Regions from separate parts of the Homo sapiens genome. Here all the other regions are linked to region 1. Evidence: promoter capture Hi-C in human tissues and cell types (Jung and others, 2019). All regions are on one chromosome and are shown on one strand. Each heading gives the region's core, a stretch centred on a gene start or on the middle of the fragment in contact. The rest is flanking DNA. Distances are from core to core; before and after follow the strand shown.

Region 1 (2,619 bases), core at 88-2,587:
TCACTTTGACCAGTAAAGAGCTGAAATAAATGGAGTCCGTTTCAAAATGTGTTATATTTTACTATGGTCATCATAATATAAAAGGAAACATATGAGAGAAAAATGTGATAGAATTCTTTCTGTTTTAGCCTGTTCCCCAAGTGTTTTAAATGTACTAAAAAATCTTCCCTTTTATAGTGTCCATGCTGGCACCTCCATCATGATGTCACTTATAGGTATATCTGTTGCCAGATCAGCAATCAGCAATTCCAAAAGTGATGTTCACCCATGTGTGGAGGTACCAGAAGGCCATGGCTCAGAAGCTAAAAAAATCAGTGCTACACAGGTGTGGTATAATGAAGAGAAGATCAGAGGGGATCCAGAGTCTGATGAAGCGTATTTGAGGGTTAATAGGGAGAAAATCTCCTAATCAATGATGTTAACTCTTAACAAAAGAGAACTTCACTGGTTGAATTACAATAGCAGATAGGAGGGTAAAAATAGCAACTTGAGATTGTTAAACCTGTGTTTGTAAGTTACATAAATAACAACAATACCTGAAGTTAGACCCCAATGAATTCATTTCTACTAGATATGCTGGATAACAAAAAGAATTTTCTGAATCAAACCTAATAAACTACAATTTCCAAAGCACCAACTATATGCAAGATGCTATGCAAGTTGTAGTGGAAAACTTAAAATAATAAGAGCAGAAAACGTGGTCCCAGTCTTTGGGGGGGGATTTTTAAAAACTTATGAAACAGGATTGACTACATGTCAAATGAAAGAGCCACATAGATGGGGAGACTCTCATGCCCTAAATGGAATCATGTTGTTTGACCTAGTTGTATACTGGTATGATTTGGGAAACTTTTCATTCACTCTTTACACAATGAAAGACTAGTTTTCTTCCTAGTTCGCCAACAAAGTAAATAAAAAGAATACATTATCATTGCCTTACAATTCTAAAAGCAGAACAATATCTTCTATGTGAAACAGAAGGCTAGATCAAAATAAATTTCAGTGTCAAAAGCAAAGGAGGTCTTTAAAGGAAGTGAAAAAATCAAGTTAATTCACTTCTTAATTACTGGCCTTAAAGAAATAAATTGAATATCTTGAAAAAATAACTCAAAAAGCACCTCAGTTTCACGAGCAAATGCAAATTAAAAAAACCACAACCACAACCAACCAACACCAATCAGAGTGGTGCTCCTTGTGTGCCCTTTCTGAGGATTGGTAGAAACTGCATTTTTTAATCTCGGCTTTCATGTTTGTCCAAGATCTTTAAAGGGAGGGGAAAAAAGAGAGAGAGAGGCAGGCACTGTATAAAAGAAGCTTCCTTGAGGTTTCTAAAATTTATACAAAAACATCATATGTAAGTAAACTCACCAGATTTGGCATCTGCTCTTTGGTGATGGACCCAGAAGAAACTTCAGTTTATTTGGATTATTACTATGCTACGAGCCCAAACTCTGACATCAGGGAGACCCACTCCCATGTTCCTTACACCTCTGTCTTCCTTCCAGTCTTTTACACAGCTGTGTTCCTGACTGGAGTGCTGGGGAACCTTGTTCTCATGGGAGCGTTGCATTTCAAACCCGGCAGCCGAAGACTGATCGACATCTTTATCATCAATCTGGCTGCCTCTGACTTCATTTTTCTTGTCACATTGCCTCTCTGGGTGGATAAAGAAGCATCTCTAGGACTGTGGAGGACGGGCTCCTTCCTGTGCAAAGGGAGCTCCTACATGATCTCCGTCAATATGCACTGCAGTGTCCTCCTGCTCACTTGCATGAGTGTTGACCGCTACCTGGCCATTGTGTGGCCAGTCGTATCCAGGAAATTCAGAAGGACAGACTGTGCATATGTAGTCTGTGCCAGCATCTGGTTTATCTCCTGCCTGCTGGGGTTGCCTACTCTTCTGTCCAGGGAGCTCACGCTGATTGATGATAAGCCATACTGTGCAGAGAAAAAGGCAACTCCAATTAAACTCATATGGTCCCTGGTGGCCTTAATTTTCACCTTTTTTGTCCCTTTGTTGAGCATTGTGACCTGCTACTGTTGCATTGCAAGGAAGCTGTGTGCCCATTACCAGCAATCAGGAAAGCACAACAAAAAGCTGAAGAAATCTATAAAGATCATCTTTATTGTCGTGGCAGCCTTTCTTGTCTCCTGGCTGCCCTTCAATACTTTCAAGTTCCTGGCCATTGTCTCTGGGTTGCGGCAAGAACACTATTTACCCTCAGCTATTCTTCAGCTTGGTATGGAGGTGAGTGGACCCTTGGCATTTGCCAACAGCTGTGTCAACCCTTTCATTTACTATATCTTCGACAGCTACATCCGCCGGGCCATTGTCCACTGCTTGTGCCCTTGCCTGAAAAACTATGACTTTGGGAGTAGCACTGAGACATCAGATAGTCACCTCACTAAGGCTCTCTCCACCTTCATTCATGCAGAAGATTTTGCCAGGAGGAGGAAGAGGTCTGTGTCACTCTAAAGGGAACTGTGACATTTCAAGCTCTGTTGGTGGGTTTAGGAGTTAATTTTTGTCAGCAACAAAGAAGGAAGTGTTAATGATAGGATTCACATTGCTTCATAGATGCAAGGAAGAGTTCATTTTTAAAGAGAGGACTGAAAAAT
Region 2 (2,619 bases), core at 54-2,553, 730 kb before region 1:
CCAAGGAAATGGCTTAGCCAGACGTACTAAAAGGAAGACCATATTTGACAAGCTTCACACACGTTTGCAAATTCCAATCAATTTTTTAGTGTTCACTTATACATATGAACAGATGGCAAAGGATGACCAGGCATTTGAGGATGAAAACATTATGAAATATGGGAATGTGCACAAACAAGAAAAGTGGGTTCGAGTAAGTAGAATTTATATAGAGAGAACATTTCAAAAAACTGTTAAAGAGTATCCTCAAAGAGATAAGAGAAGGTGTTACTTTCATGAATAAAGGCAGTAAACTACTTGAAAAGAAAGAACGAAAAAAAATGAGTTCTTGGAAAATAAGAATATAGTAGTTGAAATGAAAAATTTAGTTTTAAAAAGATGATAAAATAGAGGCAAACTCCCAGAAAGTAGAGCAGAAAGACAAAGAATAGAAAATTTGAAAGAAAAGAAAGGGGTCATGTTCAGGAGGCCCAATATCCAAATAATAGGAAATTCAGAAAGAGAGAACAGAAAAAAGTAGAGGATAGCAAATCCTCGAACAGTATTTTCTAGAACTAAATTGATGAGTTTTCAGTTGACAGGCCTCTCAAGAGCTCAATACAGTGGATAAAAATATTCCCATACCAGCAGGTATCATTACTAAAATGCAGTGCTGCAAACAGTGGAAGATTCTGCAAGCTTCCTGAGAAAAAAAATTAAAGCTTCCTGAGGAAAAAAAGAATAAGAAAACAGAATAACATCAGATTTATCAACAGCAACAACTTGGAAGCTGTAAGATAATTGGGAAATGCCTGGAAGAGTCCAAGGAGGGAATAATAGAATTATATACTCAGGCAGTATCAGTGCATTTTGACAGTAGAATAAAGACATCTTCAGCTATATGGTATCTCAAGAATTTACTTTCTGTCCTTTTTACTAAGGTAGCCACTGAGAAGAATATTTTTCAAAAACAGGAAAATCTTGGTACCAGCATTATCAAAAAAATAAAAGGAAATAAACCAAGAAGAGAAAATTGAGGGATCATGAGACAGGAAAACCAGCACAGAGAGTAGGGGAAGGAATCCCCAGGATATTAATGGAGACCCTAGAATGATAAGGAAGATATTGTAACAAAATGACTGTGGCAGGCATAGAGAAAATGAGTATAGATTCTAGAGTTTTTTATAAGACTCTGTGGAAGAGTTCTTCAAGAAGGCAAAGTAGATGGACTGTGTAATGTACTTCATAGTAATAAAGGTTTAAACTCTGGGAGTGGTGCAATTGAATTAGTGTTAAGTACATACAATTAAATAGATGAGTTGGATGGGAGTGGGAAAGACAATTATTAACTCTAGGAGGGATAAAATATAGAAGAGGAAAGAAAAAGTATACCACCTGTCTTAGCTGTGAATAGCATTTACAGAGTCATCATATTGACAATGACTATATTAGTGTGTTAGGAGAATGGGGGTATTAGAAGTATTATGAGGGTTGCCTAGGAGCAGCATGGGAGTGTGAGAGAGCTGATGTCTCATATTACATTGAAGGAAATGATATTTGAAGAAGTAACAATAAAAGTATATTATTTAGAGGTATTATAAGTATTCATCTAAAAGGGAGTTATAAGTAGTTGCCCCTGAAAGGGAGGAATGGAGAAGAAGCAAAGTACTGCTGTTTTGCCTAGAAATCTCATAGAACTAGTTGACTCTATGCAAATGTACAACTTTGATAAAAATAATAACTATAGATGAATTGTGCTTTTAAAAAAGCAGGTGTAGCTGGACCTGGTGCACACTTGTAGTCTCAACTACTAGAGAGGTTCAGGTGGGAGGACCACTTGCACCCAGAAGTTCCAGTACAGCCTGGGCCACATAGCAAGATCCTATCTCTAAAAAATAATAATAACAAAAGCACATGTATACATAAGTTTCCAACATGTTGTATAGATTTGACTTAGATTACTTTAGAAAATAGATTTTGCCCTATAGAGATTGATAATTTTTGTTTGTTTTTTGTTATCAGATCAGATCCAGACTGTGAAGACATGAAAAGATAATAGTTGGAAACCTCAGCAATTTTCAATTCAAGGAATCTATCTAAGACAAATAGAATACATTTTGTAAAAGATGTTTATGCATCAAAAAATATAATTTTCTGCTTGCATTTATGGACTCTGACCTTTTTAAGAACATAGGACTTCAGGTATGCTAATTTGGCCATTAATTATTTAAAAACTAAATATTCCCTCAAAAGGGCTCCCTAGAATTATCAAGTTCTTAGTGAAGGTCTACATTTGATTGTACGTAGAATGTTTAAAAGTCAGTTATAAGCCATCTCATCCCATCATAATTTATGATATGTTTAATATATTTTATTTTTTAATTGTCTTTTTAAAAAATTTAGTTTATGACTTTGCAGTATGAATTGTGCTTGTGAAAAAGAACTTTAAATATTTATAAGGGACCATGGGTAATTAATATATATTCAATTTTTACTATGTGTCACTGTCAATAAAATGTAAAATATAATGTGCCAACTAGTGCGCTTTGTTTATGCTGAAAAGAATAATGCTCTGTTAGTATGGTATTTCGTGTCATACTGTCAAGCATTTGTAAACCATCTGAGACTAAGTTAAGCTGA
Region 3 (2,619 bases), core at 54-2,553, 600 kb before region 1:
TGCACTGGATTACATTACAATATCTGTACAGTTTTAATTTAACTATTTGTTAGTAATTCCCCAGACACAAGGATAGATGGTGCCTTGTTTTATCATCCCCCCAAAAGTCTCTTAACATGGTGTCTTGCATACATTAATGAATGAAAAAGCAATACTGAGTCTATTCTTGTCTGACATGATGGGTTGAAGAAATACTTTTAATGCAGAAATCACCACCATTCTTGTGCATTTCAGCTTTTTTTAAATTAAAAATGCCTTTATTCTTCCTCCTAGGAATATTTTTAAGAGCTTACCACCACAGAGTCTTACATTCCTAGTGACTGCTCCTGTGACCTCCTAGAAATTAGGGTGCCATTCCATTCCATATTTATTCTGTTGCCAGCTAAAAGCATTGGCAGGACTAATTATGGTCCATATTACAGTACCACAAGACCTTAATCTGTGATTTGGAATCATGGGTCTCTTTATTATGGCTGTTTTTATTATGAGATTGATTGCTTTTCTGATAACTTGAATTTTAGTTTACAAAAAAGTGAACAAAAATTATTAATAAAATCTAATCTTTCCAGTGCAGTTTTGACTATAGCAACCTTAGAGAGTAAAACAGTAAACTCCATGCATTTAAGAATACAATGGATTCAGGGTACCCTGTGTTCAGACTGGGATGTCACTGAGATATGGCCACTCCTATGGTGACGCTTTCTTTTTCTGCTAATAGGTTTTTGAAGAACCCTCCATCAGCCTTTTTGCTCTGGAGCATTGTGAGGGAAGAGAGTTACATCTAGAAGAGGCTGTGAACTCTGTTCTGAACAAGGACCTACACTTCTACACCCAGTCTGTGTGGGTAAAAAGTGGACTGTAAGTATGGGAAAAAGGCTTGGTCTGGTTCAGTTACTGTTTTAAGACAGAGTTGCAGAGTTGCAAACCAAGTCCACTGTGTAGTAGTACGCATTCAAGTGGTCTTGAGGAAGAGCCCTTTGGAAGAGAAGGGCTACCATATGGTCACAGCATGTGTCATAGAGTAGGTCAATCAAATGACTTTACCCAGTTGAACTTTCTTTTCAGAAGAAATTTCAATATCCCAGCAACTTTGGTTAAGACAATTTCCTGCTTAAGGCAAGTGACTGCTGGCAAGACCAAGTTCGATGTTGTTTTTTGATTTAATAGCCATGTATTCTAGAGCAGTTCCTCCAGGGTACTCACTTGCCTGTGGACTACACTGGTTGGCCTAGCCTGCCTACCAGTATTGTTGTTCATTTAGGTTATCAGTCAGTCAGGGTAGACCCAGGGGCCTGTGCTTTTACAAATTAGAAAGCTGCCTTTAAGAAAAAATTTAAAATTATGATAGAAATATTAGATATCAATGTGAATACTTAGGACAGAAATGGTGAGAAGCCTGTAAGTGAGGGGCCTTGAAGTTGAAGCTCTGTTTGCTTCCTGGAAAATCTGCCTCTGAATCCAGTTCTGAAGAGTCCGGCATATAAACCAGCCCCTACTCCTGCACTGTTAGTGTTCTGGTAGCAAAAGTCAACTAAAAAAACACACATAGCTCTTGACGGTTAATAAAAAAATGGCTTTAAAAGTTTTTCTATGGCTTTGAAATTCCGTGATAATCAACTGTGCTGGTTTAAATATCTGGGGATAAAGAGAAAGCCAATAATATAAGTGGAGGTGAAAATTAAGCAAACTATTATAATAAATGGCTTTTATATTATACACTTGTATAAATAGCTTAAGTTTTCTTCTGCAAAACATTTTAAATGGTTTGATGTTTATTCAGACAAATTGATTTATTCTATCTAAGCATAAGATTCCAATATATTATTTACCAATTAACTAAATTTTACATCCCTGTGATATAGGTCTTTCACAACATTTTAATTCATTTCTTCCCATTTCTGAGTGAAATTGATACTTGACTCACTTCTGAAAATTTCTCACTTTCTTATTTCATTTTTTTCTGGAACACTGGTGCCATTTTATCTTGACATTCTTATTTCTTCTCTTTGGCTTATTAGCCACCTACTCTCACTATTCCAAATTCTCTTTAAGAGAATTGGAACATGGAGTAAGGAACAGTGAAGGCTGCCTAAGGATTTTCCTAGGTTACAGAATACTACTTAATGTACAGCCAGCTTCCCTTAGTTACAAGTTGGGTTTGTTTTAATCCCCATGCTATGCCACATCTTTGATCTGTGATGATGACAGCCATGCTTAAATGCACCATCCCACACAGTTTTCCAACTGTGGAATTCATTTAAATCAATATATAATTAGGTACATTTTCCTAAAATCTTACCTAGATTTTATAACTGAAACTTCCCTGACAGTTTAAAGAATCTGCAGCGGGAGAGGCAGCTAAGCCTGTCCGTGGTCATGCTGACCTGCCTCTCCACCAGTCTGATTGATTAGATTTGTGTAGGAAGGAGGGGTCAAGAATGGGCCATCCATCTCATTCATCTCTCCATAATTTGGTCAAGTCTGATCTTGGTTGTGGGGAGCAAGGAGGACTTTTCTTAGTGGTGGTCAGGTTGAGTCAGTCATCCCTACCCAAGCTTTCATAGCTGTAATACATCAAGCTTTCCTCAGCTCTCCCCTTCTCCCCACAACTTATGCTCA

Evidence for each region. The method cuts DNA at HindIII sites, captures the fragments that hold promoters and counts their contacts. A contact is called where the count stands out against the background at its distance.
Region 2: a fragment that was not itself captured here is called in contact with the fragment with the promoter of GPR15 in region 1 in 1 of the 25 tissues and cell types used here (hippocampus).
Region 3: a fragment that was not itself captured here is called in contact with the fragment with the promoter of GPR15 in region 1 in 1 of the 25 tissues and cell types used here (dorsolateral prefrontal cortex).

Annotation. Positions count from the first base shown.
Region 1 is chr3:98,530,641-98,533,259 of GRCh38, forward strand. GPR15 (G protein-coupled receptor 15) reads left to right here and starts at 1,338. Exons shown (of 1, transcript NM_005290.4): 1 at 1,338-2,619. The coding sequence starts at 1,394. The coding sequence ends at 2,476. RefSeq lists a silencer at 1,199-1,358. The HindIII fragment of the contact is 5,385 bases long and covers 1-2,158 here.
Region 2 is chr3:97,796,023-97,798,641 of GRCh38, forward strand. ARL6 (ARF like GTPase 6) reads left to right here. Exons shown (of 8, transcript NM_001278293.3): 8 at 2,002-2,619. The coding sequence ends at 2,027. Among named protein-coding and RNA genes, the nearest start is that of CRYBG3, 25 kb to the right of the region's middle. The HindIII fragment of the contact is 3,468 bases long and covers 1-2,619 here.
Region 3 is chr3:97,932,976-97,935,594 of GRCh38, forward strand. It overlaps CRYBG3 (crystallin beta-gamma domain containing 3), which reads left to right. Exons shown (of 22, transcript NM_153605.4): 18 at 719-858. Among named protein-coding and RNA genes, the nearest start is that of RIOX2, 38 kb to the right of the region's middle. The HindIII fragment of the contact is 3,013 bases long and covers 1-2,619 here.